6 separate regions of the Homo sapiens genome follow, and all the other regions are linked to region 5. The links are contacts of gene promoters, found by promoter capture Hi-C in blood cells and fetal thymus (Javierre and others, 2016). All regions are on one chromosome and are shown on one strand. Each heading gives the region's core, a stretch centred on a gene start or on the middle of the fragment in contact. The rest is flanking DNA. Distances are from core to core; before and after follow the strand shown. Region 1 holds the start of CFLAR (CASP8 and FADD like apoptosis regulator). Region 2 holds the start of ORC2 (origin recognition complex subunit 2). Region 3 holds the start of PPIL3 (peptidylprolyl isomerase like 3). Region 4 holds the start of BZW1 (basic leucine zipper and W2 domains 1). Region 5 holds the start of SUMO1 (small ubiquitin like modifier 1). Region 6 holds the start of CYP20A1 (cytochrome P450 family 20 subfamily A member 1).

The links. The method cuts DNA at HindIII sites, captures the fragments that hold promoters and counts their contacts. A CHiCAGO score of 5 or more calls a contact.
Region 1: the fragment with the promoter of CFLAR here is called in contact with a fragment that was not itself captured in region 5 in 1 of 17 cell types (fetal thymus); the score reaches 6.2 in fetal thymus.
Region 2: the fragment with the promoter of ORC2 here is called in contact with a fragment that was not itself captured in region 5 in 4 of 17 cell types (fetal thymus, total B cells, monocytes and 1 more); the score reaches 8.4 in fetal thymus.
Region 3: the fragment with the promoter of PPIL3 here is called in contact with a fragment that was not itself captured in region 5 in 3 of 17 cell types (fetal thymus, naive CD8 T cells and total CD4 T cells); the score reaches 6.5 in fetal thymus.
Region 4: a contact is called between the fragment with the promoter of BZW1 here and a fragment that was not itself captured in region 5, in 2 of 17 cell types (total CD4 T cells and fetal thymus). The highest score is 6.1, in total CD4 T cells.
Region 6: a contact is called between the fragment with the promoter of CYP20A1 here and a fragment that was not itself captured in region 5, in 2 of 17 cell types (total B cells and naive B cells). The highest score is 7.3, in total B cells.

What each region holds. Positions count from the first base shown.
Region 1 is chr2:201,113,573-201,118,143 of GRCh38, reverse strand. It overlaps CFLAR (CASP8 and FADD like apoptosis regulator), which reads right to left and starts at 1,980. Exons shown (of 10, transcript NM_003879.7): 1 at 1,663-1,980. LOC105373836 (a long non-coding RNA gene) reads left to right here and starts at 1,460. Exons shown (of 3, transcript XR_923785.3): 1 at 1,460-3,200. RefSeq lists enhancers at 45-94, 1,735-1,994 and a silencer at 1,495-1,704. The HindIII fragment of the contact is 6,122 bases long and covers 945-4,571 here.
Region 2 is chr2:200,960,961-200,965,717 of GRCh38, reverse strand. It overlaps ORC2 (origin recognition complex subunit 2), which reads left to right and starts at 2,058. Exons shown (of 18, transcript NM_006190.5): 1 at 2,058-2,228. It overlaps LOC105373835 (a long non-coding RNA gene), which reads right to left and starts at 2,286. Exons shown (of 3, transcript NR_187976.1): 1 at 2,088-2,286. RefSeq lists a silencer at 1,649-2,047 and an enhancer at 2,756-2,825. The HindIII fragment of the contact is 10,169 bases long and covers 1-4,757 here.
Region 3 is chr2:200,886,141-200,890,371 of GRCh38, reverse strand. PPIL3 (peptidylprolyl isomerase like 3) reads left to right here and starts at 1,295. Exons shown (of 7, transcript NM_130906.3): 1 at 1,295-1,416; 2 at 2,687-2,759. The coding sequence starts at 2,757. It overlaps NIF3L1 (NGG1 interacting factor 3 like 1), which reads right to left and starts at 1,001. Exons shown (of 7, transcript NM_001369441.2): 1 at 720-1,001. RefSeq lists enhancers at 218-467, 726-1,470, 1,358-1,607, 460-1,659, 1,728-1,777 and 1 more. The HindIII fragment of the contact is 11,124 bases long and covers 1-4,231 here.
Region 4 is chr2:200,810,056-200,814,284 of GRCh38, reverse strand. BZW1 (basic leucine zipper and W2 domains 1) reads right to left here and starts at 2,375. Exons shown (of 12, transcript NM_001207067.2): 1 at 2,295-2,375; 2 at 1,004-1,077. The coding sequence starts at 1,067. It overlaps BZW1-AS1 (BZW1 antisense RNA 1), which reads left to right and starts at 2,115. Exons shown (of 4, transcript NR_110275.1): 1 at 2,115-2,500. RefSeq lists enhancers at 1,022-1,537, 1,538-2,053, 2,902-3,161 and silencers at 1,802-2,171, 2,702-2,851. The HindIII fragment of the contact is 7,792 bases long and covers 1-4,229 here.
Region 5 is chr2:202,235,211-202,239,840 of GRCh38, reverse strand. SUMO1 (small ubiquitin like modifier 1) reads left to right here and starts at 1,244. Exons shown (of 5, transcript NM_003352.8): 1 at 1,244-1,401. The coding sequence starts at 1,390. It also overlaps the pseudogene STMP1P1. RefSeq lists a silencer at 1,590-1,779. The HindIII fragment of the contact is 685 bases long and covers 2,954-3,638 here.
Region 6 is chr2:203,236,611-203,241,303 of GRCh38, reverse strand. CYP20A1 (cytochrome P450 family 20 subfamily A member 1) reads right to left here and starts at 2,286. Exons shown (of 13, transcript NM_177538.3): 1 at 2,170-2,286. The coding sequence starts at 2,241. RefSeq lists enhancers at 1,566-1,855, 1,679-2,250, 2,536-2,585 and a silencer at 2,256-2,465. The HindIII fragment of the contact is 4,599 bases long and covers 1-3,403 here.

The sequences.
Region 1 (4,571 bases), core at 731-3,230, 1.1 Mb after region 5:
TAACAAAACAAGAAAATGGATGTAAAGCAAACAGTAAACATTAAAAACTCCCTTTCAACCCAGTCTTTTTTGTTTAGATCTTGGAGTTGGGCCGGGCATGGTGGCTCACGCCTGTAATCCCAGCACTTTGGGATGCCGAGGCGGGCGGATCACCTAAGGTCAGGAGTTCGAGACCAGACTGACCAACATGGAGAAACCCCGTCTCTATTAAAAATACAAAACTAGCCGGGCATGGTGGTGCATGCCTGTAATCTCAGCTACTTGAGAGGCTGAGGCACGAGAATCGCTTGAACCCGACAGGCGGAGGTTGCGGTGAGCAGAGATAGTGCCATTGCATTCCAGCCTGGGCAACAAGAGTGAAATGCTGTCTCAAAAAAAAAAAAAAAAAAAAAAGATCTTGGAGCTCCAGCCAGGTTTTTTGTTCAACGAAACTTTTGTAAGGTTATTTAGGGGAATCACCAAACCGAAAAGTGCCAAAAACTCCGTTCCTCTTATCGGAAATCTCTCTCTAAAGCAGGTCAAACCTTCCAGAGCCCGCTGTCTGTTGTAGATTATCGCAGTTTGTTGATGTCCAAAAAGCTTTACTTATGCTATACGCTATCCCCCTACTGGTTTCACCCCTCATTGCTTAAGAACAAATTTCAAATGTCAACCAATTAAAATATTCGCAAGACCTCTGGCGTCCTTGAATTTACTTCCTGCCCGTGGAGCCAAAAACTGATTCTGAATTTCAGTGGCCTTTGTTCTACTGCGTGCCACTGTTAATATTAAAAGAACATGGCCTTCTGTCCAAATCCAGACACCCTCAAGCAAGAACATCTTGAAGCCAGTTTACATTTCCCAGTCGTTTTGAGGCGGTGGAAAAGTGGCAGAAACAGGTTCATTTTAAAAGGCTCTAAAAACTTTTCATTAGCCAAGCATTCCCAGCTTTCCCAAGGCAAGCTTTCCTTGCACTTGGGCAAAATAGACATTAAACTGCTCTGGAAAATAACCGCCCTGACCAGGCTATTGTGAAATTCCCTCCAGGGCGGCGGCTCCCACTGAGTGAGATCGAGCGCATACACAATTGTTGGGAAAGTCCACGTTCCCAACAACTTTCGAAAGGAAAAATGCCAGATCTTCTCAACAGTTCACCCCAAGAATTGAACTCTCAAGATCATTTTAAGCAAAGTTTACACGACGCTGAGGGCCCGCCACTGAAGCTCGCGGGTGGGCCTCTGGGGCTGCGGCTGCAGGGGGCGGCCAGAGTTGGCCAAGGGTTACTTCCGGTCTCTCAGGTCCATCGGGGTGCAGCTTGTACCGCTGTGGCCCAGGTCGCCCCTTTCTGGGAATCCGGGGCGGAGTTGCGGGTAGAAGGGGTTCGGGGGTTCGGAGCCGGGCGGAAACGGAAGCGGGGGCATTCCGCAAAGCCCGCGGTAAACAACCGAGATAAGGAACCTACAAAACTGAGTCAGGTTCCAGAAGCGCCCCCGCCATCCCCTGGCCACTGCCGGCCACCTGCAGTTTCCCGGAGCGCAGGGCTGTGAGGAGCGGCGCGGGGTGGGACGCGGGGCGCGGCGGCGCAGGGCCTGCTGCAATGCTGACTCAGGGCCGGGCGTCGGGGCTTGGGGTCTGGGACAGCTCCGGCGCCGCCAGCGCGGGGGTCGAGCGCGGGGCACGTACCGTCCTGTCGCGGCCGGACTCTCCTGCCGCTGCCACCTCAGCCTTCGCTCCCCTAGACGCCGGGAAGGCGCACCCAAGATGGAGGCAAAGAAACCGAAAGCCTGGAAGCGGACTTGGTGCTGGGCGATCGCTGTTCGCGGCGCTTCTCTCCTACACCTCCTCCCGTGGTCCTTGTTGTCTCAGCTGTCACTGGACAAAAGTCCAATAGCCGGCACTCACTGTGTGAGGCCGAGTCCCCACCCCTAGCTCCGGGAGTCCCTTTTAGTTGAGACTCGTCGGTGAGGCTGCAAGCTCGCTGTTTCCTGCTATGGCTTGTGTGACTGAGTATGCAGTAACCGGGGGTGGATGTCGACACAAGTTCCACGCGTTAGGAGTAAACACTGCGAGTGTTTTTTTTTTTCTTTCTTTCTTTCCTTCTTTTTTGAGACAGAGTCTCGCTCTGTGGCCCAGGCTGGAGTGCAGTGGCGCAATTTCAGCTCACTGCAACCTCCGCCTTCCTAGTTCAAGCGATTCTCTTGCCTCAGCCTCCCGAGTAGCTGGGACTACAGGCACGCGCCAGCACGCCCGCCTAATTTTTGTGTTTAGTAGAGACGGGGTTTCACTGTTGGCCAGAATGGTCTCGAACTCTTGACCTCGTGATCCGCCCGCCTCGGCCTCCCAAAGTGCTGGGATTACAGGCGTGAGCCACCACGCCCGGCGCGAGTGTTTACAATTGTTGTCTGGGAGTCATAGCAAACGTGAACACACTTTGTGGTTTTTTGTGTGTATGTTTTTGTTTGTTTTTTTTTGTTTTCCTTCTTGAGACAGGGTCTCGCGCTGTCGCCCAGGCTAGAAGGCAGTGGCGCCATCACAGCTCACTGCAGCCTGGATTTCCCGCTCTCAAACCATCCAGCCCTCAGCCTCCCAAGTAGCGGGGACCACAGGTGCAAGCCACCATGCCCGACTAATTTTTTTTTTTTTTTGTATTTTTAGTAGAGATGGGGTTTCACCATGTTGGCAAGGCTGGTCTCCAACTGCTGGCCTCAAGTGATCCTTGCCCGCCTCGGCCTCCCAAAGTGCTGGGATCACAGGCGTGAGCCACCGCGCCCCTCTACGTTTTTATTTATTCCTAATAACTACTTTATTGTGATTCTTAAAGAGCTTTAACTTTTCTTGAGATAATTTTAAACTCACAGGAAAGGTGAAGAATAATACCAAGAGAGACTAACAGCAGGACGGCATGAAGAGCTCGGGATTCACCCCTAGTGAAACTGAAAATTATTTAAAACAACAAACAACCATTAACCATTTAAAGCCTTTGAAATGGTCCTAAGGGCAAACAGCAAATGAAGAAACATCTGTTCCAAAAAATCTATGAAAACTCTTGGATCAGAATGTGAGAGTCAGTCTGTGGTATTTAAACCAAACCTCTCCCTTTGTTCAGCAAGAGACTCCACTCCAGACTGCTGCAACTCAGAACCTCTCTCTTCCCACAGCTCCCAGTCAGAGACCAGCATATCAGCATTTCTCATCTTGCCCCTAGCTACCTGATGCTGAAGGTAAATCCTGGGGGAGTGTGGTGGAGAGGTGGGAGATTCCTTCTTCCATCCAGAGGCTCTACCTTGGGTGGAGTGCTGAGACACCAGAGGAGACTTCAGCTCTTTTTCTCCATCACTTTCACCCCATATTCACCCCCAACCTTTTTTTTTAATCTCTCCATCTTCCCAAGATAGTTATATTCTGTTTGATTAATCTTCAGTATATATGCTATTATAATCATGTAAACGGTAGTCACAGCCAAGTTATGTACCAAACTATGATTACTTTTCCTTTCCCACACAACTTTTAGTTTTTTCTGGAGTTAATAATTGTCTTGTTTTGTTGGTTTTTCCATGTAATTCTATCCTAAACTCTGTCAGTTATCCAAGTTTGGTTTTTTGTTTGTTTTTGAGACAGGGTCTCACTCCAGGCTGGAGTGCAGTGACCCGATCACAGCTCACTGCAGCCTTAACCTCCCAGGTTCAAGTGATCCTTCTGCCTCAGCCTCCTGAGTAGCTAGGACTACAGGTCCTAGCATGCCACCATGCTAGGTGTGCCACTACAGGTGCCACCATGCCCAGCTAATTCTTTAAAAAAAAATTTGTGGCCCGGCGCAATGGCTTATGCCTGTAATCCCAGCACTTTGGGAGGCTGAGGCGGGTGGATCACGAGGTCAGGAGTTCAAGACCAGCCTGGCCCAGATAGTGAAACCCCATCTCTACTAAAAATACAAAAAATTAACTGGGTGTGATGGCGGGCGCCTGTAATCCCAGCTACTCAGGAGGCTAAGGCAGAGAATTGCTTGAACCCGGGAGGCGGAGGTTGCAGTGAGCCTAGATTATGCCAGTGCACTCTAGCCTGGGAGACAGAGTAAGACTCCATCTCAAAAAAAAAAAAAAAAAAAAAAAAAAAAAAAATATATATATATATATATATATATATATATATATCTAGTAGAAGCGGGGGTCGTGGGTGGCAGGGAGTCTTGCTATGTTGCCCAGGCTGGTTTTGAACTTGCCTCAAGTGATCTTCCTGCCTAGGTCTTCCAAAGCACTGGGATTACAGGCATGACCACTGCTGCTCTTGGCCTTTCTTATCTTTTTAGTACACCAAGAAAATTTTATTACAGATCAGCACCTGTCCTTAATTTGGAAACTACTATTCAAGAACACCTAGCTTAGCACCTCCATCACCACCTCCAACCCACCCTATCCCAAGTGAAAGCCATTTCTGGTTGTCAGTAGAACCATCATAGTGGACTTACCCCAGGCCCACCTTGCATGCCCACTGATTCTTACCACTTCAACACACACCAGTATGACTTCTAACCCAGCATATCCATATGTCGTTCCCTGAGGGCTTTTTCTGGCTCACATTGGAAGCCCATGTTG
Region 2 (4,757 bases), core at 809-3,308, 1.3 Mb after region 5:
AGCCGGGTATGGTGGTGTGCGCCTGCAGTCACAGCTACTCAGGAAGCTGAGGTGGGAGGTTTGGTTGAGAGCAGATAGTCGAGGCTGCAGTGAACAGTAATGTTGCCACTGCACTCCAGCCTGGGCGGCAGAGGGAGACTGCATCTCAAAAAAAAAAAATTATATATATAAAAAACACACATAAGTTGAACATATCTATTCAACATTCCTAGATCTTCATCTTTTTTTCAAATTTCTTTTCTTTTTTAAGAAATGGGGTCTCGATGTGTTGCCCAGGCTGGAGTGCAGTGGCTATTCACAAGTGAGATCACTGCTCACTGCATCCTGGAACTCTGGGATGCAAACAATCTTCCTTTTCTCAGCCTCACAAGTAGCTGGGATTACAGGTGTGTGTGCTGGGCTAGTCATCTTCACATTTTTAAACACTCTTCAAACACATCATTGTTAACTGTTGAGCTATGTTCTCTTTATCTTCTGTCTCTAGTCACTCCCCAAATTCTTATTTATAATGCACAAAAAATTGCCTTTCTCTTCCATTTTCTTAACTCCACCTAGCCAAAATGGAATAATGAGGTATCAAGGCTATGATCATTTCTTTCTCAACTGGATTTCCTAAACAGCTCCCAAATCTTGTGACTCTATATCTTCCCTCCCAATCCTACCTCCTTTATCCAAAGATCTTTCAATACAAATCTGACCAGTGCCCTAAGGGCCAACTAAGCCCTTCATAATAACAGACCCAATGCTTGGCATTTTACACAGCTGTTACACGGATTTGGACCTTCTACCTGGAAAATTTTACCCCTCTTGGCCTGTTTTAAATCTATTCAACACAGGGGTTTCAGTTTAAACATCTCTTCCTCCTAGAAAATTGTTCCTGACTCCTTCTGGGCTTTTAATTAGCTACTCCTACCATGTGCTCCAATGCACTTCCCATATCATGGTATTTTTCTCAATATTGTCCGTTCAATATCTTCACGTGCTAGGTAACTACAGTGAATGCAGAGATCGTAGTTGTCTCGCTCGATAATGAATACTTATCTTCTGTTCGCAGAGTACTCTGTAGTTTTGTTTTGAGTAAGTGAATCCAAATGAAACAATACCCTGTTCTTAATACTGTATGGATCCCATCCAGGTTCATTCCTTTTCTTCCTCATTTTCTCTGTCTTGTCTTTTTTATATTTTGGATAGTTGAAGTCAATCATTTTCTCTGTCTATTCATTCTATTTCCCCAGCCTCTTCATCCCACTAGCCGTCCGATCCCATCTCCATATTCAGTGCTTCTCCTAACGTCTCTTCTTCTCCCTACCCCAAACCCTGGAGATGTACAAGATCCTACCTTTCACGCCAAATGAAGAAAATCTTTAAAAAAGAAATGCGAATCAATTTCCATTACCTTTTTCTTCAAAAGGTAGCTGGGAAACCAATGAACACTTTTTTTTTTTTTTTTTTTTTTTTTTGAGACGGAGTTTCGCTCTTGTTGCCCAGGCTGGAATGCAATGGCTCGATCTCGGCTCACTGCAACGTCCGCCTCCCGGGTTCAAGCGTTTCTCCTGCCTCAGCCTCCCGAGTAGCTAGTATTACAGGCATGCGCCACCACGCCCGGCTAATTTTGTATTTTTAGGAGAGACGGGGTTTCTCCATGTCGGTCAGACTGGTCTCGAGCTCCCGACCTCAGGTGATTCGCCCGCCTCGGCCTCCCAAGGTGCTGGGATTAGAGGCGTGAGACACTGCGCCCGACCCCAAAGAACACTTTTTAAAGATTGCTACAAGACAAACAGCTACCACTCAGCCAGCTACTGTGCAAACTTCCTCAGATCCAAACAACACTTCCTTTTCCCTTCCCCGGAAACGGAAAGAAGAAAGGAAAGGTAAGGCCCACAACTCAGGGCCCAAGAATCCGTTTTCCTCAGGTTTCCTGATGGGCGGGGCCGAATGGCCGGCGCCGACTGGACGGCAGAGCCGTCGCTCTTGGCCGACTCCTCTTCCTATTGGCTTCCTCGGGCACCGCCCCCTGAACAGGGCGGGAGATTCGGTGTGCCGCACGCAGGCTTCCCATCCCCCAGCTGGCCTCCGGTGCTCCTTACCTCCCCGGTGGTCGGGCGCGAATTACTGGAAATTGGCTTTTCCCGTTGGGGCCGAAGGTACCTTCCCTGCGGCGGCGACTCAGCGGGGTGTCGTTCGGCCGGCGTGACGCAGCCGGATCGGCGCCAGACGGAAACCTAGCGGTGAGTAGTGGGGTGTCGGGGCAGCCTGCCTCCCTTTTCTGCTTAGCTCGCGGCGTGTGAGGTGCGTCCAGGTGCACCCAGCCCCGCGTCGGAGCTTGGCCCCTAGCGTCCCAAGTCGCGCATCTCAGGACTTTCCCTCGGCACTTGGGGCATGGTCTTTGCGCCTCGCTGCCCCCCGCAGGCTGCCCGGGGGCTCGAGAACCCTTACTGGTGGAGCGCAGCCAACTGGCCAGAGGCTGGAGGCGCAGGCCAAAGTCCTTTAAGACTTGAGGTGAGAGGCTCACTCTGGGAGGACCTTTCGTTAGTCTGCCCCGCAGTTATAGGCCTTTTGTGCAAGGGACGCCTGATACTAACCTACCTGATTCCCAGCTTACGAAGCCCTCTGGTTGGAAAAGGAGAACTGTGAAGATGTGTAACGACAGTGGTAAAGTGCCCTGTGAGGTATGAAGAGGAAGAGATCGCGTCCCAGAACCACTGTAGCTAGAACCTTTGATGTCATCCCAGCCTGGAGGCACCAATGTGTCCTGCCAGCTAACTGATCGGTCACCTTGGAGCCATGCTTGGCTGTAAAATGTTGATAAGCCAGGCTCTTTTGGTAGAGCTTTTTAATTAAAAAGATGTTGAGACGTTACTTTTCATTTTACAATTGAAATCCTAATAGAATCATTACACTTTCCCGCAGTTAAATTGCAATCTGAAGAAAAATAGCACGGCCCTACACCGTTATATAAGGGCACTGCACGTTAAACGGACATCATCACTTATTGAGCAGTTTTTCTGTTAGATGTTGAATGAGTTAGAGATGTACAAGAGATCTGCATGGTTAAGTTGAAGTTTAAAGTAAAAATATCTCAGTGCACTGCAGTAAGGAGCTAAAAAAGAAAAAGGTTAAAGTAAAAATACCGATAATTGGGAGCATTCAGTGATGCTCTTTTATATATCAGGCACATCATTTCATTTAATCGTCAGGACTTTGGACAAAGTCACACAGTTATAAAGTATGGAGTGGAGATTGGAACTCAGGTTTCTCCAATATTAAAATTGGTGTTTAACCACTAATCTATCCAACCTTCTTTTTCAAAGGATTATGTTTTTAAAAATTACAGCAAATCTTTTATTTGTTTTCAAAGGAGAGTGTGTTGCTACCACTTGGTGCAATGCTAACACTTGGTGCTGCAGAATTGCCTTGAAGTAACTCCTTGAAAGGGGTTGGCCTATAAGCACCAAGGCAGTGCCTTGAGGGGTCATAATGGTCACTAAATATTGCATTTTATTGTGTGATTGTTAGGTTTTTTTGTTCGTTTGTTTTTCAGGAACTGTTGGAAAGCAAAGAAGGAAACGTTTCTCATGAGGTCTTTGTAGACATTTTCTTTAATTTGGTGATTTTGTACTATTTAATAAGATGCTCCAAAATTAGAAAAGGAAATGTTTGTATAAATGCACTTGGCTACAAACAAGTCTCAGGCTGCCTCTCTCCAGGCAATTCTTGTGTAGAATACCATAGGGAAATTGCCTAGGACAATACTCAGTTGCCTAGAATATTTGTTTTTAAATTTTCCTAGAAAATCTTGTCCCCACATCCCCAAGAACAACTAAACTTTTGCCAATAAGAATTACGTAACCGACCTTTACTTGCTTTTTGCTTTGATTGCCAGGAAGCTCAGAGCCAAAAATTCATTGTGTGATTTTATTTTCTGCTTTCCTTTATATTTTTTCTGATGCAGACTCCCTATTAGCATTTATAAATTATAATTTGTTTTATTGCATTTGCTCATTGTCACTGCTTCAAATCCTTTGTAGTACACAGCAGTGTATAATTAAGTAAAATAATGTAGATTATGCTGACTCTGGCCATGCTCTTTGAAGTATGCTTGATAGAACTAGTGATGTTTCACCCAATGAACTGGAAAGTTAGAGAAACTTTCCAGTTTGGACATTCTATAGTTACCTGCTATAGAATACCCTAACCCTAATTGACATGTAGAGAAATAATTAGACCTATTATGAATGGTTTTCAGAGGTCAAAACAAGCATTTAGCGTCCAGCACAGTGGTTCACACCTGCAGTCCCAGCACTTGGGGAGGCTGAGGTGGGCAGATTGCTTGAGCTCAGGCCAGCCTGGGCAACATGGGGAAACCCCGTCTCTACAAAAAAATACAAAAATTAGCAAGGCTTGGCATTGCACGCCTGTAGTCCCACCTGTTCAGGAGGCTGAGGTGAGATGTTGCAGTGAGCTGAGATCGCACCACTGCACTCCAGCCTGGGTGACAGAGCTGAATGACCCTGTTTCAAAAAACAAACCCCACAAAAACAAAAAACCCAAAACAACAAAAAAACCAAGCATTTATGATAACATTTTTATTTGATGGCAGGAGAGGTATGTGGTGTAATAGAGTGGTCAGGAAGTTAGGAATCTGCCAGGTGCAGTGGCTTACACCTGTAATCCCAACACTTTGGGAGGCTGAGGTGGGCCAATCACGAGTTCAAGAGATCGACACCATCCTGGCCGACATGGTGAAACCCCATCTC
Region 3 (4,231 bases), core at 46-2,545, 1.3 Mb after region 5:
GTTTTTTTCTTTTTGACACAGGGTTTCACTAGGCGCCTAGGCTGGAGTGCAGTGGCGTGATCTCAGCTCACTGCAGCCTCGACTTCCTGAGCTCAAGCAGATCCTCCCACCTCAGCCTCCTGAGCAGCTGGGACTACAGGCGCTAAACACCACACCTGGCTAATTTTTGTATTTTTAGTAGAGATGGGGATTCGCCATGTTGCCCAGGCTGGTCTCAAACTCCTGCGCTCAAGTGATCCACCTGCCTCGGCCTCCAAGAGTACCGGGATTACAGGGGTGAGCCACTGCGTCCGGCCTTGAAAGATCTTCTAATGGTCCTCATAGTACTCCATTCTCCAGCATTTTCTACATCTGGCAAGCTCGAAAGTGAAACCCTAGTGGGCCATCATGCAGGTTTTGAGTTATTTACTGTTACAGATGAGGAAACTGCGAAGCTACATGGCCACAGTCAACAACGACAACAGAAGGCAACATAGTATGGCGGTTAAGAGCACCGACTCTGAAGCCAGCCTGAATCCTAGAGCCAGAGCTGTGCAACAGCAGGTAAATGACTTATCCTGTGCAGTTTCCTCCTTAATGGAAATAGTGCCCAGGCCACAATATCGCGAGATTTACACGTAAAGCTGGAAACAACTCCCGTCCTAGAGTAAGCACTGTTTACTATTAAGCAGCATCAGTAGGGCCCCTTTGCAACCTGCAAACCGCTCCCTCGACGTTACCTCATCTATGCCTCATTTCAGTGCCACTTCAGGCCTTTTCCAGGACAGTGAAAAACCACGAGACACAGCCAGTTAAGTCTGAGTCAGGACCCCTGTCCCACTAGTGCGCTGTGCTCTGGTGCGGCAGGGCAGTTTTCTGACCCAATCTCCTCTTCTGCTGTCCTCTGCAGCACCAAGATAACAATCACAGCCGGCCCCAACCGGCACCTACCGCGAAGGTCACAACTACACTCGCGGGTTTTTAAATCGCCCACTACTCACCAGTCCCGGAAACTTCTCTGCGTCACTTCCGGTCCCGCGTCGGCGCTCCGGATGCTGTGGCACTTGGCTCCCCGTAGCGGGAGAGCTGGGCGGAAGTGGTCCTTTCCGTTTGGCAGCCGAGTGTAAAGCATTGCTTGAGGTTGCCCAGGTAGTTTCGCCTTACACTTCTTGTCCCAGTGCAATTATTAGTAGAGCTCCCTTTCACTGTCAAATTTCCGGTTGGGGATAAATTGCATTGTCGTTTTGGTTTGAGATAGGAAGATGAGGGGAGGAAGGAGGTGAGGCGGTAAGGGGCGTTCTCTCTCTTGGGTCCCGCGCCCAACTTCCGCTGGCCCAAAGAAACTATAATTTTGAACCAACAGACCTCTGCTGGCATCTGCGATTGCATTTTTCCTGTTTTAACAACGGCTGTGCTAGACGAAGTGGTGAAGCCCAAGTATGGAGTAACGTCATTAATTCTTTCATTCACTTATTCGAATGCTTGCTGAGTTCTGTGTTGCTACTGGTTTAGTTCTTGGGATACTGCGAGTGAACAGTGGGCGGCGAGGCTGTTGTTGCAACGTCAGAGTAAAAGAAGGACCCTGCACGGCGGCCTCCCAGCACTTCGGGAGGCCGAGGCGGGCGGATCACCTGAAGTCAGGAGTTCGAGACCAGCCTGGCCAACACGGCGAAACCCCGTCTCTACTAAAAATACAAAAATTAGTCGTGCATGGTAGCGCGCGCCTGTAGTCCCACCTACTCGGGAGGCTGAGACACGACAATCACTTGAACCCGGGAGGCGGAGGCGGAGGTTGCAGTGAGCCGAGATCCTGCCGCACTGCACTCCAGCCTGGCGACATAGCGAGACTCCGTCTCAAAATGAAAAAAAAAGAGAAGTTCATAGTATATTAGTGATAAGTGCTGTGGTGGAAAAAAAAAAGTTCATAGTATATTAGTATAAGTGCTGTGGTGAAAAAAAAAAAAAGCGAATTTCATAGTATATTAGTGATAAGTGCTGTGGGAGAAGGAAATAGGAATGTCCTAGGGCTGAAGGGCTAAAGCAGTTCTGTGTAGGATTGTCAGGTCAGTTAAACTTGACATTTAAGCAGAAATTTGGAGGTGAGGAAATTAGCCGTAGAGATGTCTGAGTATAAGAATTCCAGGCAAAAGGGACACCCAATGCCTGGACCCTAAGGGAAGGTATCTGGGTTATTGGGGGACTTGCAAGGAGGCTCTTGAAGAAGAGCAAGCCGGGCAAGTAGGAGATTGGGAGGCTTGAATCGGGTAGGATATCTTCTATAGCCGGGTTTTTATTACCTAGGGGATGCCATTAGAGGATTTTTTTTTTTTTTTTTTTTGACGGAGTCTCGCGCTGTCACCCAGGCTGGAGTGCAGTGGCGCGATCTCAGCTCACTGCAGCCTCCGCCTCCTGGGTTCAAGTGATTCTCCTGCCGCAGCCTGCTGAGTAGCTAGGACTACAGGCGCCTGCCACCACACCCGGCTAATTTTTGTGTTTTTAGTAGAGACGGGGTTTCGCCATGTTGGCCAGGCTGGTCTCGAACTCCTGACCTCAAGTGATCCACCCGCCTCGGCCTCCCAAAGTGTTAGGATTATAGGCGTGAGCCACCACGCCCGGCGAGGTTTTTATTTAAAATGTTCAGTAAAGATGAGCGTGTGTGAGTTAAGACAGGAAAATGAGCCTAATTCTTTTTTTCTTTTGGGACTAGAGACTTATTTTTGAGCTCGCTGTAAGACTGAGAAATCACGTAGTCCTTCCTGAAACCACTAAGAGGAAAAATGGTAAGTTTTGAGCAATTTTTATCTAATGTCTTTCATTATAAGTAATTTTTAGAAATTCAGTCAAGGGCAATAAAAGTTCATGGAAATTGCAGTGGCAAGATGGAGAAATTGTATAATATAGAAGCACTTAATATGGAATAATTCTTTTAAAAAATACACAAAATTGCTTTAAAATTCTTTAATGTTGTCACTTAAAATGCACAGAATTTACCTTTTTTTTTTTTTTTTTTTTTGAGTTTCACTCTTGTCTCCCAGGCTGGAGTGCAGTGGTGTAATCTCGGCTCACTGCAGCCTCTGCCCCTGGGTTCAAGCGATTCTCCTGCCTTAGCCTCCCCGGTAGCTGAGATTACACGCGCCTGCCACCACGCCCAGCTAATTTTTTGTATTTTTAGTAGAGATGGGGTTTCGCCATTTTGGGCAGACTGGTCTCGAACTCCTGACCTCAGGTGATCTGCCTGCCTTGACCTCCCAAAGTGTTGGAATTACAGGCGTGAGCCAACTCGCCCAGCCAGAATTTACCTTTTATGGAGAAAGATTGATTACAAGATAGATAGAAATGGAAAGGGAGAGTTGAAGGAGCAGAAGAGAATAGACAGGTCTGACAATTTTAATTGGATTATTTTGCTCTAGATCTAAAGTGGGCAACTAGGCTGGGCACAGTGGCTGACACCTGTGATCCCAGCACTTTGGGAGGCGGAGGTGAGAGGACTGCTTGATCCCAGGAGTTCAACACCAGCTTGGGCAACACAGTGAGGCCCCCGTCTCTACTTTTAAAAAAACAATTAAATAAAGTGGGCAACTAGAACCTGAAGTAGAAAAAGGCAATGAGAATAGTGCCCTGCTTCTCCCACACACATCTTTAACCTGCTCATACTCTCTAACTGCTAGGCCAGGCGCGGTGGCTCACGCCTGTAATCTCGGCACTTTGGGAGGCAGAGGTGGGCCAATCACTTGAGGTCAGGAGTTCGAGACCAGCCTGGCCAACATGGTGAAACCCTGTCTCTACTAAAAATACAAAAATTATCTGGGTGTTGTGGCATATCCCAGTAATCCCAGCTACTTGGGAGGCTGAGGCAGGAGAATTGCTTGAACGCAGGAGGTGGAGATTGTAGTGAGCCGAGATCACGCCACTGCACTCCAGTGTGGGCGACAGAGCAAGACTCCACCTCAAAAAAAAAAAAAAGGAGAAATGAAAAAGGAACCCTCCAAATTGTTTTCTCCCTCTCTGGAATACAGTATCATATCAAGGGGTATACAGGTTACAGAAAAACAGGTACAACAAAAACAAAAAGCAAGCAAGAAAGCACTGTGGTTATCTCTGCACATTTAAGATTTAGAAACACTGACACTTGTTATATTTTTGTTAGTCGAGAAAGGAATTATTTTTTAACCCTATTTCTCAGAATTAAATTACCTAAGGAAAATGGTGGAAATTATGTTTTGAAAAATCATTTTCTCATCATTTTTCTATA
Region 4 (4,229 bases), core at 1,126-3,625, 1.4 Mb after region 5:
TACATCTCTCCCTGATGCTAATAATAAGAATGCTAAAGCTACTTGCTATTATTTGTATCAAGGTAACATCAGTAACCCACATATTCAAGAGATACACTTTCCCATTTTACTGCCAAACTGTTCTAGTTTACAACTCCAGCTCCTTAAGAAAATTTACCAGCTAAATCTAAATGAATCTGCAAAGATTAGAATCAAATCACACTTTGGTCTCCCCACCACTACTACAAGGGGACAGACAGCCTATGATTAGTGATTTTAAAATTCTACAATATATATCTCAAAATGTCTGCTACTTAAGGAAGAAAAAGAAAAACACAACTTATAACCAGTAGCTGACCTAGTTCTTCATTTCCTCAAAACCACCTGTAAAACAAGGTTAATATGCTTTTGACCAAAAACAGTAAAAATATATCTGAGACTACGTCTTATTTAGCTTTATATCACTAGCACAGCACTTTGCTACAGAATTCAATACTCACCTAAGTACACACTAATGCAAAAAAAAAATAGTAATATAATTCTAATACTTTTTCTACTAAGTCTGTATTTCAAAAGACATTACAATGTGAATCCTGTTCCACAATTAACTTCCATGGGTGAAGTCTGAGTTTTCTCTCACAAATCTTCACAAAATCTGGGTGACTACATTAGGAGTTCTCCTTTTATAAATTAACATTTTTGCTCATTTAAGTTTGCTTAAATGAGACTGCCTGCTAGTGAAAACAGAGCCCTTATTTTTATTTTTAAAAATATTTTACCTTCACACCGAAAAGAAGATTCACTAACCGGCTTAGAGATATATTGATACTAAAAATTAAGGCTTGAGCAGTAAAGCAGTAGAAATATTAAAGGTGTATGTGAAATGGCAGTCAACGAGAAATTCAAGTTTCTTTCTGGTATCTTCTTTTGAGGCTTTAGTAATATGCAAGTACCTGTCAGAGAAGGCAAGATACACAAGATGTTCTGGAGGTTTGAAGAGAGACATTAAAACGTAAATATTTACCTCTTTTTCTAGTTTTAAAACGCTGGCCTGATAGCGTTGGCTTTTGCTGCTTTTGATTATTCATAAAAGACACCCTAGGAAAGGAGAAATAAAGCCTTAATATCAGTGCCATAATACTAATTTTTAAAGCAAAACATCAAACCTTAGTCTAGTCACATATGAATCAAATGGAACACCCACTCTCAGGATATAAAGCTGGCAATTATACCCGATACAGGCACAAAGAATTACCTGCACTTGAATCAAATGTACGTCAAAATGTGCATTTCTCTCTACAAGAAACCCTTCAAATTAGTGCTGTGAACTACTTTTAAGCGACATTGTAGTGCTACAGTGATCACCCGTCATAAACCTAATTGTTCAGTTTTCTCCACATTCCTCTTTACATTCACTTACATCTTCCACGACCACTAAGCATCGCAGAACGCAAAGAGAGATTATCACCATAGTCAGCAGGCATCCAAAATGTGTATGCCAATTCTAAAACACTGTCAAAAGGTGAACCCCTTCTTCTGACAAGCCTGGTTACGGGCAGCACCATCCTACCCTAGGTCATGCCTGTGACCGCAACAGCGGCCGCCTTGCACCACTCAGGCCTGCAAAACTAACAGCCAGCCCAGCCTCCTTCGCCCATATCCCACAGTCCTAGCCTCCTCCCCGGTAACGTGTCTCCCAATCCACACCCTTCCCATGCCTCCCGCCCGAGCCACAGATCACCCGCTTCCCGCCCAGGACCCCATCGGCCACAGCGGGGCGCCGTAGGGTCCCGCGGCTCTTTCTCCACTGACCCTGTCGCCTGCGGTGGCGGCCGCCGCAACGAGCGGACCACAGTCACTGAGGCGCTTTGCGCCGGGGCCCCAGGCGCCCCGTACATCCGCCCGCCCTCCAGCGAAAGCAGCGGCGGAGGCGGCGGCCGCAGCGGTGGTGGGTGGCAGCCCCTCCGCCCCGCCCGCCGGAAGCCCCCACGCGTACATCACACAACAGAGGCCGCGGCGGCTTTGTTAGCCAGGCCGGGCACGGCCCAGAGGGAGCCCGCCTCGGCCACTGCCTTCGCAGCCAGCGCCGCGGCGCACACCCGGACCCCACCTCCCCACCCGGGCCGCCGCTACCCCTCGGCCTCCCTGCCGAAGCGGCGGCCTTTCAGGCCCTAGATCCGGCCCGGCCTCAAGAGGCGACCTCCGTTCGGGCCCATCCAAGCCGGGCCGCATCCAGCCCGCCGCCTCCCTCTCCCTCTGCCCGGCGTCCACGACCCGCAGCGTCCGCCCGGGGTGAGCGGGGCGCCGCGTCTCACCGAATTTAAGGCGAAGAGGAAAGAGCCAGAAATCCCCGATGTACCGGCAACTGCGGCGGTGTCTCCTCTGCGACCGGAACTAACGCCAGGAGGAGGGAGAGGTGCCACCCCCGCCCGGACCGCTCTCCTATCGCGAGATTTCTTCCCCTTGCCCCGCCCTGATCGTGGACAGGCGCTTCCGCCTTTTCTATTGCGCGCGGATTAGGGTGAGGGACTGGGATAGGGGAGGGGAGAGACGTTTCCAGTCTTCTTTATTCCCTTACTGGGTTCCACGTCGCCTGGACACTTGTCCTAGACTAGCTTATTTTTCTTCCCCCGCTGCGTCGTCCGCCCTCTTCACACATGGAGGGGTTGGAAGAGCGGAGCCGGCCCCCGCCGGTCTCGAAGTTGGACGCGTCCTCCTGGAGTCCCTCGCCGCCGGCCCCCTCCTCCAGCACCGGAAGTCGAAGCCCGAGGGCGGGGGGCCCTCGGGTCGTGCGGGGGCGGAGGCTGGGGGCGGGCATGGGGGCGTGGTTTGGGGAAGGAATCCGCACCTCGCCTCCGCCCTGGCCGGGATGGGCGGAGTTCGCTCCAGCTGAGTCCCCTGCCTGGCGACTTTTCTCTGAGGGGCTGTCTCATTGTTCACTACCTCCCTTAAGAGCGAAGAGGACACAGGCCGAAGATTGAGAAGGGGAAATTCTGTCCTCCAACCGCGGTCCCTGCGCGCTGCAGCGGTTGTCTCCCGAGTGTGGTGGCTATGGGGACTTGGAGAGCATCAGAATCCCTTGGAGGACTTGTTATAACAGACTGCTGGGCCCCACCCGTAGTTTCTCATTCTGTAGGCCTGGTGTGGAACCCATGAATGTGCATTTCCAACAAGTTATCTGTGATGCTGCTGCTGGTCCGCACCTTGAGAACCCCTCAGTTAGAGGCTATATCATCAGGGAGCTGGGGTACGATCAGATTAGATAGTGCGTGTGAAAAGCACTGTGGACGTGACAAAACTCTGTGCAGATAAAGATGCACAGCGCCTCTAGGATGTAGCCCCATGTTTTTATTCACTGTACAGTAGTTTACTTCTCTCCAGTTGCTTCCTCACTCTCTGGTAGGAGGAGAGTGGCTTCTCTTCCCTAAACCTTTTGATAAAATAGTTTGTTGACTTCTTTTCCCTAATTAACTATCTGACCTCTACCCCACCCCCCCGCAACTTCATGGAAAAATGACTTTCTCAGCGTTCGTTCCTGAAATTATTGCCAAACCCAGTGTTTTATTCTTCACCCTGTTTGCCTCCTCTGAGCATTGAATGTTACCTACCTCTCTCCTTGAATCCTGGCTCCAGCTATCCTGGTTACGTTCTGAATGTGCCTTTGCACGGTATTTTCTGACTCTTCTTTTCTGTACTGATACCTTTTCTTTCTGGATACTTTCTTCTATGGCAGTCTCATACATTCTCAAGGATTTAACATTTACTCCACTTAAAAGAGTTCCAAGATCATCTACTGAATCATTAAGCAAATATTTGTTAAATCCAGGCTCTATGCCCTTCCAAGTTGAGGCAACAGCAGTGGGAAGGAGGCAGGAAACAAACTGCATCTGTTGGAGGAACTGCAAGAAGCTAGTGTGATTGGGAGGGCTGTGGGGAGCAGAGGGAAGTGGCTGGAGTCTGATCTCTAAGTGTCTAGCCCCTTCCTTTCTCCCAAGGCCCCAGTCCACACTATCTGGCATCTTCACTTCATGGCTAATTTAACACTGTCAGTGCTGTCAATTGCTCTTCCCCCAGAACTGTATTTTTCACATCTGAAGTTCTGTTAAAGGACAACGTTTCACAAATAAAAATGATAACTAATATGTCCCTATATGTATCAGGCCCTCTTCTATGCACTTTATGTAGTAACCCCATTTCATCCTGAAAACTACCCTGTAATCTAGACACTATTATTAGTCCCATTTTACAGA
Region 5 (4,630 bases), core at 2,047-4,546:
AACACAGGGTCTAGCAAAGAGGAGCCCAGAGGCTGGAGATGAAAACAAAAGCTTTTGGTTCAGATGGTAAAGGAGGCCCTCAAGAGCAGTAGAATCAGTATATCCCGAAGGCAGTGCTGGAGGCATTCTCATGAAGTAGGGGGTTTCTTCTTGGCATCCAAGTCCTTTTTAATTTCTTCAAGTTTTTTAGCCAGGTTTGGTATGTCATAGTTCTGAGCCAGATACATTCCAACCACGTTGCCCAATGTAAATCCAAGCAGGAATTGGAGCATGATGTTGGTGGGGAGGGCGAGGAGGGCGCAAAGGGCTGCTGCAGCTCTGCAGGCCGGTCAGAGCCTGCTTCCCCATGCGAGGGGAGCGGAATCGCCCCCCCCGCCACCTTTTTTTTTTTGAGAGGGAGTTTCACTCTTGTCGCCCAGGCTGCAGTGCAATGGCGCGGATCTCGGCTCACTGCAACCTCCGCCTCCCGGGTTCAAGCGATTCTCCAGCCTCAGCCTCCCTAGTAGCTGGGATTATAGGCGCCAGCCACCACGCCCGGCTAATTTTTGTTATTTTTAGTAGAGACGTGGTTTCACCGTGTTGGCCAGGCTGGTCTCGAACTCCTGATCTCAGGTGATCCGCCCGCCTCGGCCTCCCAAAGTGCTGGGATTATAGGCGTGAGCCACAGCGCCCTGCCAAGAAGAATCATTCTTTAACCTTAACTCAAAGCAACCAATTCAAGGGTTGGAATTACTCACTCCCCATTTAGAACTTTCAGCAGCGGTCTTTAGCATCAGTAGCCGTCAAGATTGTGTTGGGTCGTTGCTTTCTTGTTGTTTTAAATCACGGTCATGTGTTTGGCAAGGGTGCTGGTTAACCGAAAATGTTGGTTCTAGAGCTAGAAGTACTGGCATTCAAATAAACATATTTGGGGGTTGGGGGTTGATGAGCAAGGCTGGGAGGAGACAAAAGAAGTATCTCGGCTCAGTCGTCAGAGACGCGCAAGGTGTAACGGAGAGAGCAATCTAGGTTGTGAGAGTGGCTCCAAACATTGAGACATGGAGCCAGGACCTTTGCTCCTGGGGGATGGCCCTAGTACTGATGCGCAGGACCTGGTCCTTGAAGGAGCTGACAAAACTGCCGTTCACCCGCGCGACCACCGGCAAAGCAGCTCCACAGCCTGCCCCTCCCCTTGGCTGCTCCCCCACCCATTTCCCGCCTTGTCTTTCCTCTCTTCTCTCTCTCCCTCCTCCCTGCGCGAAGCGGAAGTGACGCGAGGCGTAGCGGAAGTTACTGCAGCCGCGGTGTTGTGCTGTGGGGAAGGGAGAAGGATTTGTAAACCCCGGAGCGAGGTTCTGCTTACCCGAGGCCGCTGCTGTGCGGAGACCCCCGGGTGAAGCCACCGTCATCATGTCTGACCAGGTACCGGGCTGGGAGCCATCCAACGGCGGTGGCCAGGGCCTTCCCTGCAGGTCTGCCTGCCGCTAGGCTGGGGTCGGGGATGGAGGCGCGGGGGAGGGGAGCGCGGAATGGGGGAGGGGGCGGCCGGTGGGGACTAGGCAGGCGAGGGAGAGGAGCCGACTACGGCCGGAGGTGCCGGGGCCTGCTGCGGGGCTCCCGGAGCCGCCCGCCCCTCTCCGGGCTCGCTCATCACCCCCGTACCCCACCGCCTTTGGTGGCGGCCTCCCTCATGTCGTCCCACTTCTTTCTCCCGGGTCGACTAGGTGCAGAGCCCCGCTTCCACCTCCCTGGGAGGGTCTCTGGAGAACCCGTCCGTCTCCTTCCAGAGGACTAATCGCAGAAGCAGGGCCCTAGGCCTTAGTTATGTAACGGGAGAGAATCCCTGACTGGGAGGCTCCGTGGCCCTGAGAAGCGGCTGGACTCTCCACTTTTTGCTTCTTCGTCGGGAGGGCGTGGGGCGGCGAGGGAGGGAGACGTCCGATGTTGTTGGGAATCCTGCCTCCGTTCGGATTGGAGCTAGGGCAAGGATGCCGCTGCTCTCCTCTGAGTCTTTTTCCGTGTGGGGGTGCAGAGCTGTCGCCTCTTTACTGTACTTTCCCGTTTCTTACTCGGGATTGGTTCATCCTAGCTCTCCAGTTGTAAGAGAGCATTCATAATAACCAAGAAAGAAAATAGAACTAAACTGCTAGAGCAACAAAAAGCATCTCACCTGGGCATTAACCTGAGGAAGTCTCATATTTTTGAGGAAAAGCATAGGAAAACTTTGTGTATGTAGAGTCGTTGCAGAATATTTGCAGAAAGTTGCCTGGTAAGGCAAAGTGCTCCAGCTCACTGTTAGTATCAATAATTTACTTGGGATTTGCACTTAATCAGGAGTGATCGATTTCCCCTTTTCTTCCTCATCCTGTTCTAATTAAACAACTTTATGGCTAGTTTTTAATTCATAAAGTTTTTGTCTGGTCTTTTGTTTGCTCAGACGACTTTGACTTTTTTTTTTTTTTGAGACGGAGTCTCGCTGTGTCGCCAGGCTGGAGTGCAGTGGTGCGATCTCCACTCACTGCACCCTCCCGCCTCCTGGGTTCAAGCAATTTTCGGGCCTCAGCCTCCCGAGTAGCTGGGATTACAGGCACTCACCACCAGGCACTCACCACCACACCTAGCTAATTTTTGTATTTTTAGTAGAGACGGGGTTTCACCATATTGGCCAGGCTGGTCTCGATCTCCTTACCTCGTGATCCGCCCACCTCGGCCTCCCAAAGTGCTGGGATTACGGGCGTGAGCCACCGCGCCCAGCCGACTTTGACTTTTTACATTATTTTTGGACTTTTACTCATTTAATGGTAGTTATTCAGAAAACTATTTTTCATTCAACTCCACGATGTACTTGAACTTTTAAATTTAACACACCTATTCCCTTGGCTTTTAACCCAGTTTTGTACCATTTCGTGAGAGCAAGTGAGGTTTTTGCAGATTGGTACTATTGTACAAAATGTACACTTAACATTTTAAAGCTTAACCATAATCTAGATGAATTTTGGATGGATCTACTTACTAATAATCTAGATTAATTCCCAAGTGGGCATTGTGTTTCCCTAGGTAGTTGTTTACTTGGTTACTAGGAAGAAAAGTATAGGCGTAAATGCTTAGTTTCGTCAGCCTTTTATTTTGTTTCCCAGAAGCGTCTAGGAAGCATTTTGAAATTTATTGTAGACTGATGGAAGAGCAACATAAAGAAATAATTATAAAATGTAGAATTTATTGCTCCATTTTGAAGTCAGGTTATTTAAGAGATACATAAAGAAATGAAGGACCTAGGATACAAATAGATTCTTTTATTTCATGTTCATACTAGGACATTATTTGTCTTTTTCACTGTCATTCTTTCATGAGTGTTCAATGGACGTTTCTAGAAACTAACATGACTTGTGATAAAACAAATTAAATGTGGAAGCAGATGTGAAAATCCAGCTGTTTAGCTGTTTTTATTAAGCCAGACATTAAAGAGATTTGCAAAAATGTGTAACAGTCCCACTCTTTCATTAATTTTGTTTTGAAAAATATTTTTAATAAAAATATATATTTGTTAACATATAACAGGTTTGTTGGTATTTTAAAATGAATTAATATTTAAGACATTTCTCAGTTTTCAGTGTTTAATACTGTAAACATCAATAGATGTAACCAACCTAACAAAAGCTTTATGGGATTCTAAATAAATTTAAGTGTAAGATTCCTGAGAACAAAAAGTTTGAGAACTGTTGCTGTAGGCTGATTGACCAACATCATTAGGACTCGCCGGGTGCAGTGGCTTAAGCCTGTAATCCCAGCACTTTGGGAGGTCAAGTTGGGTGGATCACGAGGTCAGGAGTTCTAGACCAGCCTGACTAACATGGTGAAACCCCGTCTCTACTAAAAATACAAAAAATAGCCAGGCGTGGTGGTGCGCACCTGTAATCCCAGCTACTCAGAAGGCTGAGGCAGGAGAACTGCTTAAACCCGGGAGGCGGAGGTTGCAGTAACTGGAGATCACTCCACTGCACTCCAGCCTGGGCGACAGAGTGAGACTCCGTTTAAAAAAAAAAAAAAGACTCAGTACATTGGCCGGGTGCAGCGCCTCACACCTGTAATCCTGGCACTTTGGGAGGCCTAAGTGGGGGAGGATTGCTTGAGCCCAGTTTGAGACCAGCCTGGGCAATATAGAGAGACGTCGTCTCTACAAAAAATAAAATTAGCCAGGCATGATGGCCTGTACCTGTAGTCCCAGCTACTCAGGAGGTTGATATGGGAGGATCACCTGAGCCTGCGAGGTCGAGGTTGCAGCAAGCCAAGATCATGCCACTGTACTTCAGCCTGGGCGATAGAGACCCTGACTCAAAACAAAGAAGACCCAGTACAAGTTCAGTGTTGAGTGCTAAAGACTTAAAAGAGTTATAAAGCTGAACCCTTAATCTTAAGAGGTTTATAAGTGAGAACAAGAATCTCCAAATCCTGTACTGTTTAATATCAGCATGAGACTAAACCACTGTCCTAAGAAGACAACCTTAATTTGAATCAAGTTATTTTAGAGTGATGTGTTTTCTGAGGCAGCTCTCAGAAGGTTATTGTCTGGTGTTAAAATAGTGAAATTGAGTAATAACAAGGTTAAAATCGGTGGACATTAAATACACACAAGACTTCAATTGCTGGGTCC
Region 6 (4,693 bases), core at 1,037-3,536, 1.0 Mb before region 5:
GAATGTCTAACAGGCATCTCAAACCTAGCCCACCCAAAACCAACTCCTAATCTCTATAAATCCCCACTACCTCCCACCAAAACAAAACTAAAGAACAACCACCACCAGCAAAACCCCTGATCTTCCCTGGAATTAATCTATCCTTCCAGATACCAGGCTAAAAATAACTGGTGTTTTCCTTGATGCCTCTCTTTCACATTTCACATCCAATCCACTGGGAAATCCCATTGGCACTATCTTCACAATTGACTAGTTCTCATTATCTGTGCCACTACTACCATGATCCAAGCTGAAATGATAATATCCTCCTAATTACTTGGCTTGCTTCCATCCTTACCTGGAGACCCATGTCAATTCATGACTTAGCAACCACAATGATTCTTTTAAAATTTATCTAATAAAATTAAATTTGAATTCTATCCAATTTCAAATGGCATTCATCTGCTGAAATCCTCCAGTGGCACACAGCAAAAGTCCATTAAAAAAGCCTTACAAGTCATTTAAAATTTGTCCTTCACTCCCATCTTTCTGACTTTCTCTCCTCTGGTATCTTCCTCATTTACTACACTCTAACCACACTGGTCCCCTTGCTTTCCAGGAACACACCAGGCGTGTCTCCCTCTGAAGGTTTGCATTTGCTGCTCCCTCGACCCAGAATGCTCTTTCTCAGAATGGCTTGCACCTTCACCTTCTTCGCGTTTCTACTCAAATGTCTCCGTATCTCCTGGCCATCCTACTTTAAAATAACAATCTACCTATCCCCAACTTTATTTCTACCCACAATCCTATGTTATTTGTTTCTATTGTCTGTTCCCCTTCTCTAGGAAATAAATTCCAAGAGTCAGGAATTTTCTGTCCGGTTTGTTTCACGGCTGGATTCCCAGCACGTGGAACCATATCTGGCACATAGCTAGTGCTAAGAATAAACAGTGTGCTTCTATGAGCTGATCAAAGAAGAGTATCATTTTAAAATCACCAAAAATTCAAGAACCACTAAAATTGTTTAGTTTCTCAGAAAATAAGATTTCAGGAAGTCCCTGATTGTGTAGTTGCAAGATTCTAGTCTAATCCATTTACCTGCTCGGAAAAGAACATTTAAGAAGGTGTATGGTCAATTCCAGCAGTTCAGCTACTTTTCAACTTTCACTGTAAAACCACCACCTTGCTTTGTAGAACAGGTGTTTTTTGTTTGTTTGTTTGTTTGTTTTGAGATAAGAGTCTGGCTCTGTCGCCAGGCTGCAGTGCAGTGGTGCGATCTTGGCTCACTGCAAGCTCCGCCTCCCAGGTTCAAGCGATTCTCCTGCCTCAGCCTCCTGAGTAGCTGGGATTACAGGCGCCCGCCACCACAGCCAGCTAATGTTTGTATTTTTAGTAGAGACGGTGTGTCACCATGTTGGCCAGGATGGTCTCGATATCCTGACCTCGTGATCCGCCCGCCTCAGCCTCCCAAAGTGTGTAGAACAGGTTTTAAAGACGGTCCTCAGTCATCAACACTTTTGTTTTCAGACCCTCCCTCTCTCGCTGACGGAGGCAAGTGGAGAGAGGAGGACCGGAGGCTCGCAGAGGCGTCAGCGGCAGAGGAAACCTCGCACCCGAACCCGCAGCGCGGCGCTCTCCCCAAAGAAGCATTTGCCTGGAGCCCCTAAGAGGAGCAAGACCTGGACCTCGAGCACTTTGGATTCCAGTCAGGATAGATCGATGGACAGATGGAAAAGAGGAATACACAAGTGCTGGGAGAATCCTCAAGAAAGGAGAAAGGAGTGGCGCGCCCAGGAGTCTCGTCCTGACACACTGGGAAATGAAATTTGGGTTTGGCGAGTTATGGCCAAAAAGCTGCCCAAAGTACTTGAGAGCCGCCTTGGAGAGTGGCGCGGGGTGCCTGGCAAGGTGAGACCGGCCTGCGGGGGCGCGGGCTTTTCCTCAGCAGCTCTACGCCCGCCTGGCCCGGCGCCTGAGGGGTAGCGACGCAGCCCACGTCGCTCTCAGAGCTTGCCGGGAGGGGCGTCACGTGACTCCGGGTGCGGTCCCCGCGCTGAAGCTCTGGAGCGAACCCGAACCCTCCTCTCAGGCCCGCCCCCTGCGGCCCGCAGCGGGCAGGTTGGCCTGGATGCCGGCGACAGAGAGACTGGGGCGGCGCCCGGGGCCCCAGAGAGCCAAGACGGCGCTCACCGGATAGAGGTAGAGCACGGCTCCCACCAACGCCAGCAAGAAGGTAACGGCGAAGATCGCGAAGTCCAACATGGTTCTGCCGCCCAGGGAGCCACGTCTCGGATCGGCCGCTCCAGCAGCAGCGCCTCAGCCTGGCCCAATTTAAGGCATAGCGTGTGGGCGGGGGCACCCCGCGGGACCCGGAAACCAACGGGCCGCTGGGGGCGTGACCGAGGCCTGCGGCCGGCGCCAGAGGAAAGAGCAATGGATCGCCGAGGAGCCGGGGCGCGGGTTCCTGAGCGCAGCAGGCCGAGGCTGAGGCCGCCTAGCGCCAGCCTCCACCGCAAGGCGGGGATTTCGGTGCACACGATTTCAGACAGAATATGCCCGCGACTTCGGACCGGGTTGCTGGCGAAAGCAGAGCCCAGCTTTCTGAGAAAAGTTAGGAGTTAGTAGTGCTCTGTCCGCCCAACAGTTTTCGCAATGGATTCAGAATTAAAACCTCTAAACCGATGATTTTCGAAGAGTGGTCCCGGTACCAGCTGCATCAACGTCGCCCGGGAGCTCGTTAGAGATTCAGATTATCGATGCCGGGCGCGGTGGCTCCACCTGTAATCCCAGCACCTTGGGAGGCTGAAGCGGGAGGATCGCTTGAGCCCAGGAGTTTGAGACCAGCGTGGGCAACATAGTGAGACCCCAGTCTCTACAAAAAAAAAAAAAAAAAAAAAAAAAAAATTAGCCTACAGTGGTGGCGCTTGCCTGTGGCCCCAGCTGCTCCGGAGGCTGAGGCTGGAGGATCACTTTAGCCGGGGAGGCAGAGGCTACAGTGAGCCGAGATGGCACGACTGCACTCCAGCCTGGGCGACAGGGCGAGACCCTGTCTCAAAAACAAAACAAAACAAAACAAAAGGAAAACAAAATAAAAAGATTCTCGATCCCAAACTAGACCTACTGAATCAAACACTCGGGGTGGGCAGGGGTAGGGGGCGCGTACAACAATCTGTTTGAACAGAGCCCTCCCGGGGACACTGTTACACACTTAAATTTGAGTGAAAACCACCACTGATCTAAGCGGGACAGGGAAGTGTCTGGGAGTAAAACAAGAGTAGATACGCCTTGTTTCGCAGAATTTCTGTCTGAAGTACTAGTAAATGTGATTCTTTGACACTTTCTGGTGAGCGGAGGCTGCACACTGTTCAGGTTTCCTTGCTCTGTTAACTCTGACTTTCGGTAAATTGCTTCAGTTTTCTAAGCTTCCATTTCCTTCTATGTAAAAAAGTGAAAATAATACCACATGGAGTTGCCTGTAGGTTAAATTACATATTTTATGAAAATCACTTAGCACAGCTCCTGGCAAAACCGAATAAGTGCTATCTACGTCAGCATTTGGCGTTTGTTGCCCTGGGCATAAAATACCCTAGGACCCCTCTTTCTATTTCGCCTGGCTCAGAAGTTTTGACGTGGCTACTGAAATACAAGACAAGGCCTGCTACTTACTAGTGCTGCTTTTAGTGAAAGTGTGCTAAAAGTATTTATAGATTTTATAGCTTTAATAATATAAAATGTCAAGAACAGGCAGCAATTTGGCAAGAGAAATTCCAGATTGCATTTTACAGCTTCTATGATAAATGACTGTTACATAAGCAGGAAACATACCTCATTGAAAATGGCAACTCTTTTGGCATCTATAGCAAATATAATGAAACATGCTGTTTAATATTTCACTTGGCAGAAATTGTATTTTTAAGTCTTTCTCTGCATATAAATGTGCTTTAAACTGTCGTATGTTCAAAGTTCATTTTTAAGTCTCTTGTTCAGAATTTTAAAGATATTTCTTGTCAAACTGATGTTCCCAATAGGTTTTCAAAACAGTAAATGTAAGAGTTTTTTGTTTGTTTGTTTTGTTTGTTTGTTTTTGAGACGTAGTCTCCCTCTGTAGCCCAGGCTAGAGTGCAGTGACGGGATCTCGGCTCACTGCAACCTCCGCCTCCCAGGTTCAAGCAATTCTCCTGCCTCACCCTCCCGAGTAGCTGGGATTACAGGCACGCGCCACCATGCCCAGCTAATTTTTGTATTTTTAGTAGAGATGGGTTTCACCATGTTGGCCAGGCTGGTCTTTAACTCCTGACCTCGTGATTCGCCCCTCTGGGCCTCCCAAAGTGCTGAGATTACAAGCGTGAACCACCCCGCCCGGCCAAACATAAGAGTTTTAACTGCATAAGGTAGCCATATAACCGTAATCTTAGGTACCGTAATCTTAGGTACCAATCCTTCAAGATATCTAGAATTCTCTTTTAGTCCTAAATTGACCTACATCCTGAGACTCTCTGAACTTTGAGGGCTGTAAAAAAGAGACAAAAATTCCAGAAATTGTCAGGGCACCATATTTTATAGTGTGAGTCTCTAAACTAGACATCTACCTCCTCTTCCTGTGTTCCTAAAACGTTTTGCCCAGATACTCCCTAAAAGCATATATAAATAATATATATATAATATATATATACACATACACACATATATATCTTTTCACACATTTTTTGTATTG